Regions from separate parts of the Homo sapiens genome. Here region 2 is linked to region 1. Evidence: promoter capture Hi-C in human tissues and cell types (Jung and others, 2019). All regions are on one chromosome and are shown on one strand. Each heading gives the region's core, a stretch centred on a gene start or on the middle of the fragment in contact. The rest is flanking DNA. Distances are from core to core; before and after follow the strand shown. Region 1 holds the start of CASR (calcium sensing receptor). Region 2 has its middle 36 kb from the start of CASR.

Region 1 (3,149 bases), core at 187-2,686:
TGGTATGCCTTTTTTTTTTCTCCCCAGGAAATACACATGGAGGCTGGTGCTCAGGCCCCGGGAACTGACAATCTAATTTGATGCCACTGAAGCAAAGTTCCCAAGACAGCTGGTAGCTTGGACCAGGAATCCTGTGGGGGCACTGACGGCCCCTGGGGCCAGAGCTGACTCTGTGGCCCTCCCCTCCATATTCATACACTCTGTAAAAGCTACCTGTCCCCTTGTTAACACGTGGCAAGCGAGTCCTTTCTGACTATATCACAGGCAGAAACAAGGCAGAGGCACAAGAAACTACCAACAGCAGGCGTTTTGGTGCGCGCTCCCGTTCATTCGCGTGGGCGACCCGCTGCCCCTTCTAGGGGCACTGAACAATCCAGTTCTGAGCCGGGGAAAGCCTTGATCCTGTAATCTGGTCCCTACTTTCCCCCACGTTCACGCCCAATGCTCCCAGGCTGGAGCTGCTCCGGCGTGTGCCCCTCGTTCGGCCCGGAGCCCTTGGCCCCCAGACCCCGCCACGGCCCCTCCCCCACCAGGGGCGCTTTCCTCCCGCCCTCCTTGGGTTCCCCGGTCCTACCTGCGCCGCGGCCAGGGCTCCCTCGCACAGAGGCAGCTCCGGCCCCTCGGCCGTGGGTCTCCACGAGGATGAGCTCTGGTCTGATCTCAGGACTGCGCGCAGCCCCGCTCCCTATGCCAAGGTCACGGTCTTGGAGAGGCGCGTCTGGCTCGCTGCGCTCCCGGCGCCCGCCTTCGGGTCCGGCCACAGCAGCCCCCGCAGACCCTCTGGGCGGCCGCTGCGGCCCCGGCCCCGGCCCCGGAGCTCCGCCCCTCTCCTGCTCCCCGCCCGCTTGCCCCCTCGGGGTCCCCAACTGCCGAGCCCAGCTCCCCTCGTAGCCCACTCGCGGGCTGCCTTCTAACCCCTACCCCAGTTAGTCCCGGTTCCTTCACCGTCTCCTTAGCCCGCAGAGAGCTTAGCTGACTCTTCAGGGTCGCTGAGGGCGCGTCTTCGGTTCCCCGAGGGCCACAGGCCGGCTCGGGTCCCCAGCAGACGGCGAGCCCCGCGCTTAGGTCCTCTCCTGCCCTCTCCCGTGCCGAGCCAGGGGTTCCCGGCTCTCAAATCCTGTTCCCGCTGTCCTCTTCCCTGACCCCTACTCCTTGGCGATGGAAAGAAGCTTAGGGCGCTTACGACGCCACCAACGTTCTCTGTGCCGAGGGTGGCACAATTTTTTTTTTTCTGATATAAGGCCAGAGATTCACAGTAAAATAAATACAAATCGCGTGCCCAAACTCTTACTCATTCTGCAAGACTCAGGTCAAGCGTTGCCTGTGCCGCAAGACCTCGGTGCTGGCAAACAGCTCCCTCCTTCCACTCTCCTGCGCGAAAGGGCGTGCGGTCCTTCCTGGCTGCAGCCAGGTGCCTGTTGCACTTGGTCTACTCTACCCGACTCCACAGCGCGCTGCTTGGAGGCCCGGACCTGGCCTTGCTTATCCTTGTCCCTAGCCCCTGGCACGGTGCCTGCCACCCATCACAGCACTAGAATATTTTATGAATAAGTGGAAAATTAATTTCTTTTGTAGAAAACCAGTTTTTTTGTATGTGTTTGTTTGTTTTTGGCTTTTTACTCTCAAATAAAGCATACTCCTTTGGGTGGGCAATTTGCTAGGCTCTATAAAGAAACACCAAAAATATTATCCCCTTTAATGCAGTATTCCACCCTTGCGGAAATTTCCAGAACAAAATAATATTCGTGCGGAGATTTTTTTTTTAGCAGGATCATTTGTTACAGAAAATAATTTTAAAAACCACAAAAAGCAAACAGAGCCAAACTGTCAACAGTAGGAAATTTGTTGAATAAATTAGGGTGACTTAATGGGACATTATACAACCATTAAAATGATAAACATCAAGACAGAAGTGCTTCAAATTCTTTTTAGAATAAGGAGGGAGTATGTATTTATTTATAAAGCAAAAAAAAAATAGGAAAACATGAAGTAACATGATAAAATGTTTGCAAAATACTGTTAAGCAAAAAGCAGAAAATTGGGTCGTTTACCATGTTTAAGAACTTCAAATAAAAATGCAGATTTCTTCTCTGCAAAATGGCGATAACATCTACCTCAGGGGGTCCTTGGAGTGTTAAATGAAATAGTCAAGGAAAGTGCCCTGTATAGAATGGATACTCAACAAAGTTTCCATTTCTTTTCTTCAATGGAACACAGACTCAAATCCAGCATGTCAAACACATCCTCATTATGGCCAAGTTCTGCCCATTTGGCTTCCTTTCCCTCAAATACAGGGTAGGAGAAGGAGCTGAGCAAATGCTAAAGCACCAGTGAAGGGGGCAAAATCTGGTTAATAGGAATAAATGTGAAGTCCTCCCTCAGGCCGAAACACCCAGCAATGTAAGTAATGGAGGATGTGGCTCAGTAGTGGTGCCTATCAAAATACCTTAGATTTTATTTTAGTTGGCTACAAGCACAGCTTTGTGAACACCCAAAGGCTGAACGAGTTCAGTTCAAAACCCGAATGAGGCTGCAATCTTAGGCTGAACTGATGCTCTTCACTGGTCGGATTACACCTGGGCATAATGTCCAAATTTGGGCACTATCTTTAAGAAAGTATTACTCTGAAGATCTATTATTGCTTCCATTTTAAAGACGAAGAAACTGATGCATACAGTTTCAGGTATTTAGGGTTGGGTGGCTAGGAGTTGGCAGAGCCAAGAGCTGAACCTGATCAGCTTGACTTACAGTCCTGGTGCTTGATCACTTTACCAGTGTGTCCCAGTGTGTACATCTTCCAGTAGAGATTGGAAGCATGGTATTGGGTGGTACACAGACAATACAATTAGATAACAGTGGATCACAAGGTGAAAAAAGATATGCCCTTTTTACTTCTTTTGTTCCTATGGATTATGTCAAGGAAGGAGTATCATTTTTGTAGTATTTGTCTTTGCACCCCTCTGTAACACTTGCTAATCTCCTGTTTTAACAAAGACAGAGGTTGCCTCTCACTCAGAACCTTTGCTAGGCAACAGCTCCTAAGTAGAATTTAATATCATTGTTTTCTCTTCCATCTGTTATTATTCCTTATGCAGTTAAGTTCCAATTGACATAGTTTTCCACTGACAAAGTGATGTGGTTTCCATTTA
Region 2 (2,843 bases), core at 254-2,753, 36 kb after region 1:
GTTGAAAATGGCACTGAAAGGAGTATCAGAATGAATGTACATTACTGTTGCTAGAACTCACTGTTCTCTCCCCTCAGTGGGATTCTGGTGCCAACTGTCAAAATAGTAATGTGTTTTTTCCTCCCAGTGAAAAAAATCATATGCATTTTGAGCTGGGGAAGTATATGATGGTTTCAATCAGTCATGCCTTCATGAGTGATTAAACAGCCAACCGCTCTGTTCTCTGAAGTTGGGCCCAGGTTCAGCTAGAAGGATTAGCACTGTTTGCTGCAGCCTGGGGAGCACCTCAAGTCAGCCATCTTAGTCAGATTAGTGTTAACATTCTGTGATTAAATAGGGCTATATGCTGAGCCCATTTCCACAGGCCAGAGAGGAAATCAAATTCTCCAGCCTTAGAATAGGGACAGCTTGTGTTGTGCCAGAACCATATTAGACAAAATAAAACAAAATTGTATTTGCTTTTCTGCGAAATGATGCTGCCCTCATATCCACGTGCTGGAAGAAAGATGAGTCTTGTGGCCCTGTGCCCTGGTCAGCCATGTCCACAGGCTGCAGCCAGTGGTCAAGGACAGGACAGGAAATGACCTTAAGATGCCCACCACAGTTTGCTGCTGGAGAGGAGAGCCGCCAGTGTCTTCAGGATATTTAAAGGGGCTGCAATCTTATTAAGCTCCTGTTAATAAGCACAACTTCCTTATTTATTAGGATAAAGTGGCCTGGGATTAGAGAGAGAACCTAGTCTTTAGCACTCAGCAAATAGAAAAATAGAAAAAACATTTTTTTTTTCTGAATTATCCCACAGCTGTGAACCCAGGATTAACTATTTTACTGTCACAGTGTTGACTTCAACTGTGATGTACCAAGCTCATTTCTGACTGTTTATTTCTGTCTCAATTCTTGATTTTTAAAATTGTTGCTAACTGATTATTGAGAAAACCGTAGTTGCAAATATCAAACTTCCTTTCCAAATAGTGGCTTAGGCACATTTGAGAAGAAAAATTCCACCCTCATTTTTCTTTGTGGTAGAAAGCAAATGTCCTTGGATTTTAGAAGATCTGTTGATTGAGTCCATCACATTTTCTAGCCTTTTCTAGGATGAAGCTTACCCTTTCAGGTAGAAAAGCCTGAAGAATGTCTCTCTTCTTCCCTGAGAATCCCTGTTTATTCCTTGTCACAGCCTGGTTTGGGACTGAGTGCGAGTCAGAGTGAGACCTCTTTCACCCCAGGGGCCATGTCCCTGTGAACAGAGTTCCCCTGCAGAGCTTAAATTAGCAGTAAACACTCAGGGAGACAGCCAGAGGTAGTGGCCCTGCAGGCAGGCACCACCCCATCATCGGACAGTTCATGATTTGGCATATTGTGGCTGGGGAGGTGAAGCAGGTAACAGAATAGAAGAGAGAATTTCTGCAGCTCAATTGGGAGAGGCAAAACATGTGAGCTGACTCAGACCATCAGAGCATGGGATAGAGCTCTGGTCAGGAAAGAGAGCTCCAGATTTGAGTGTGGGGCCTGGTGCCAGGTTGGTGGCCTGCTAGGGAAAGCTAATGCCATGCAAACTTGTGTGCTGAGCAGTTGGTAGTGAAGCCTCTACAGCCAGCATGAGTTTTCCTTTTTGCTGAACATGTCTAAGAAAATACTCATAAGTATTACTTAGTACTTATTTATTTATTTAAACAAAGAATATCCAAATTGCTCTCTACCTAGGAAGGTGGAAGGTCAATAGGTCCAGCAAGGAACTTGGGCTAGGTAAATGGAGGAACTTATTTCCTTTCCATTCCTGGAGGCCTTAGCTGAGCTTGGCTGTCTTGGAATGCCTCCAAGTCTGAGGTGGCAATTTGCAGAACATATTGACAGGCTCAGTGCTGAAAAAATTATACATTATAAAATTATAATGCCCATCATGTATTAAGCACTCAAAAAGACTCTAGGAGGCCCATTATTTATTCACATTTTACACGTGAGAAAACTGAGGCAGAGACAATGAGGTAAACCACCTGCCTAACATTATACAGCTGGTGGAGCAGAGAGTTGGCTGTAGATGCCAGGCCTCAAGTGCAAGGAAGACAGTGGGAGGCCCGTTCCTGCCTTTTCAGGGTTTCTTCTAAGATCTTGAAACCCTGAGGGTATAATGGCTGATTTTCCAGATGGCAGTGACAGGGAAAATGTGGATTCATTGGCTCCAATGTTCTATCTTCTGTTTTTTTCATAGTCCAAATATTATAGTTTGGTTCTGTGACAACATCTCCATTGTTACTATGAGGGCCTTTCTCAAGGTATAGAAGGTATTTACACATCACTGTTTCAAACAGTACTCAAAATGCACTTTTATTTAGTTTGCTATCTGATTGTTCATCCAAGCCCAGAGTATTTATCTGGATCAGGTTCATCTGACAACTCCAGAGTGATTTTTCCACCCCTACGTGCTCCAAATCCCTTACGCTAGGAGTTTTATTTTTCTGTCACCTGTTTGTTGGCTCAGTTTTCTCAGAACTTTGTTTCTCAGAGCAAGAGTGACTCATGCTATGCTAAGTCAGCAGAGCAGCAAGAGAGAGGCAGGCATAGTCAAACCTGGAGTCTGGCCCTGTCAGGGAAGATGGCTCTGGGGAAACTGGTGTCAGACAAACAATGTGTGGGGCCCATGGTATGAAAGCCACAGGGATCGGAAAATTAGAATACAGTATGATGCAAGCTGTCATGGAGATCAGCTCAGCACAGTGGAAGTTCCAACACCCACTCTCTCATAGCACCCTATGCTTTTCTTTCTTCATACTTGACAGTATGTGATGAGTATACATGTTTAATGATTTGTTAAATGTATGTTGTTTTCATTAGACTGTGAGCTC

Evidence for each region. Contacts are between HindIII fragments. The study calls those that stand out against the background at their distance.
Region 2: a contact is called between a fragment that was not itself captured here and the fragment with the promoter of CASR in region 1, in 1 of the 25 tissues and cell types used here (psoas muscle).

What each region holds. Positions count from the first base shown.
Region 1 is chr3:122,181,955-122,185,103 of GRCh38, reverse strand. It overlaps CASR (calcium sensing receptor), which reads right to left and starts at 1,436. Exons shown (of 7, transcript NM_000388.4): 1 at 1,292-1,436. The HindIII fragment of the contact is 3,508 bases long and covers 232-3,149 here.
Region 2 is chr3:122,146,440-122,149,282 of GRCh38, reverse strand. No RefSeq gene overlaps it. Among named protein-coding and RNA genes, the nearest start is that of CASR, 36 kb to the left of the region's middle. The HindIII fragment of the contact is 3,748 bases long and covers 1-2,843 here.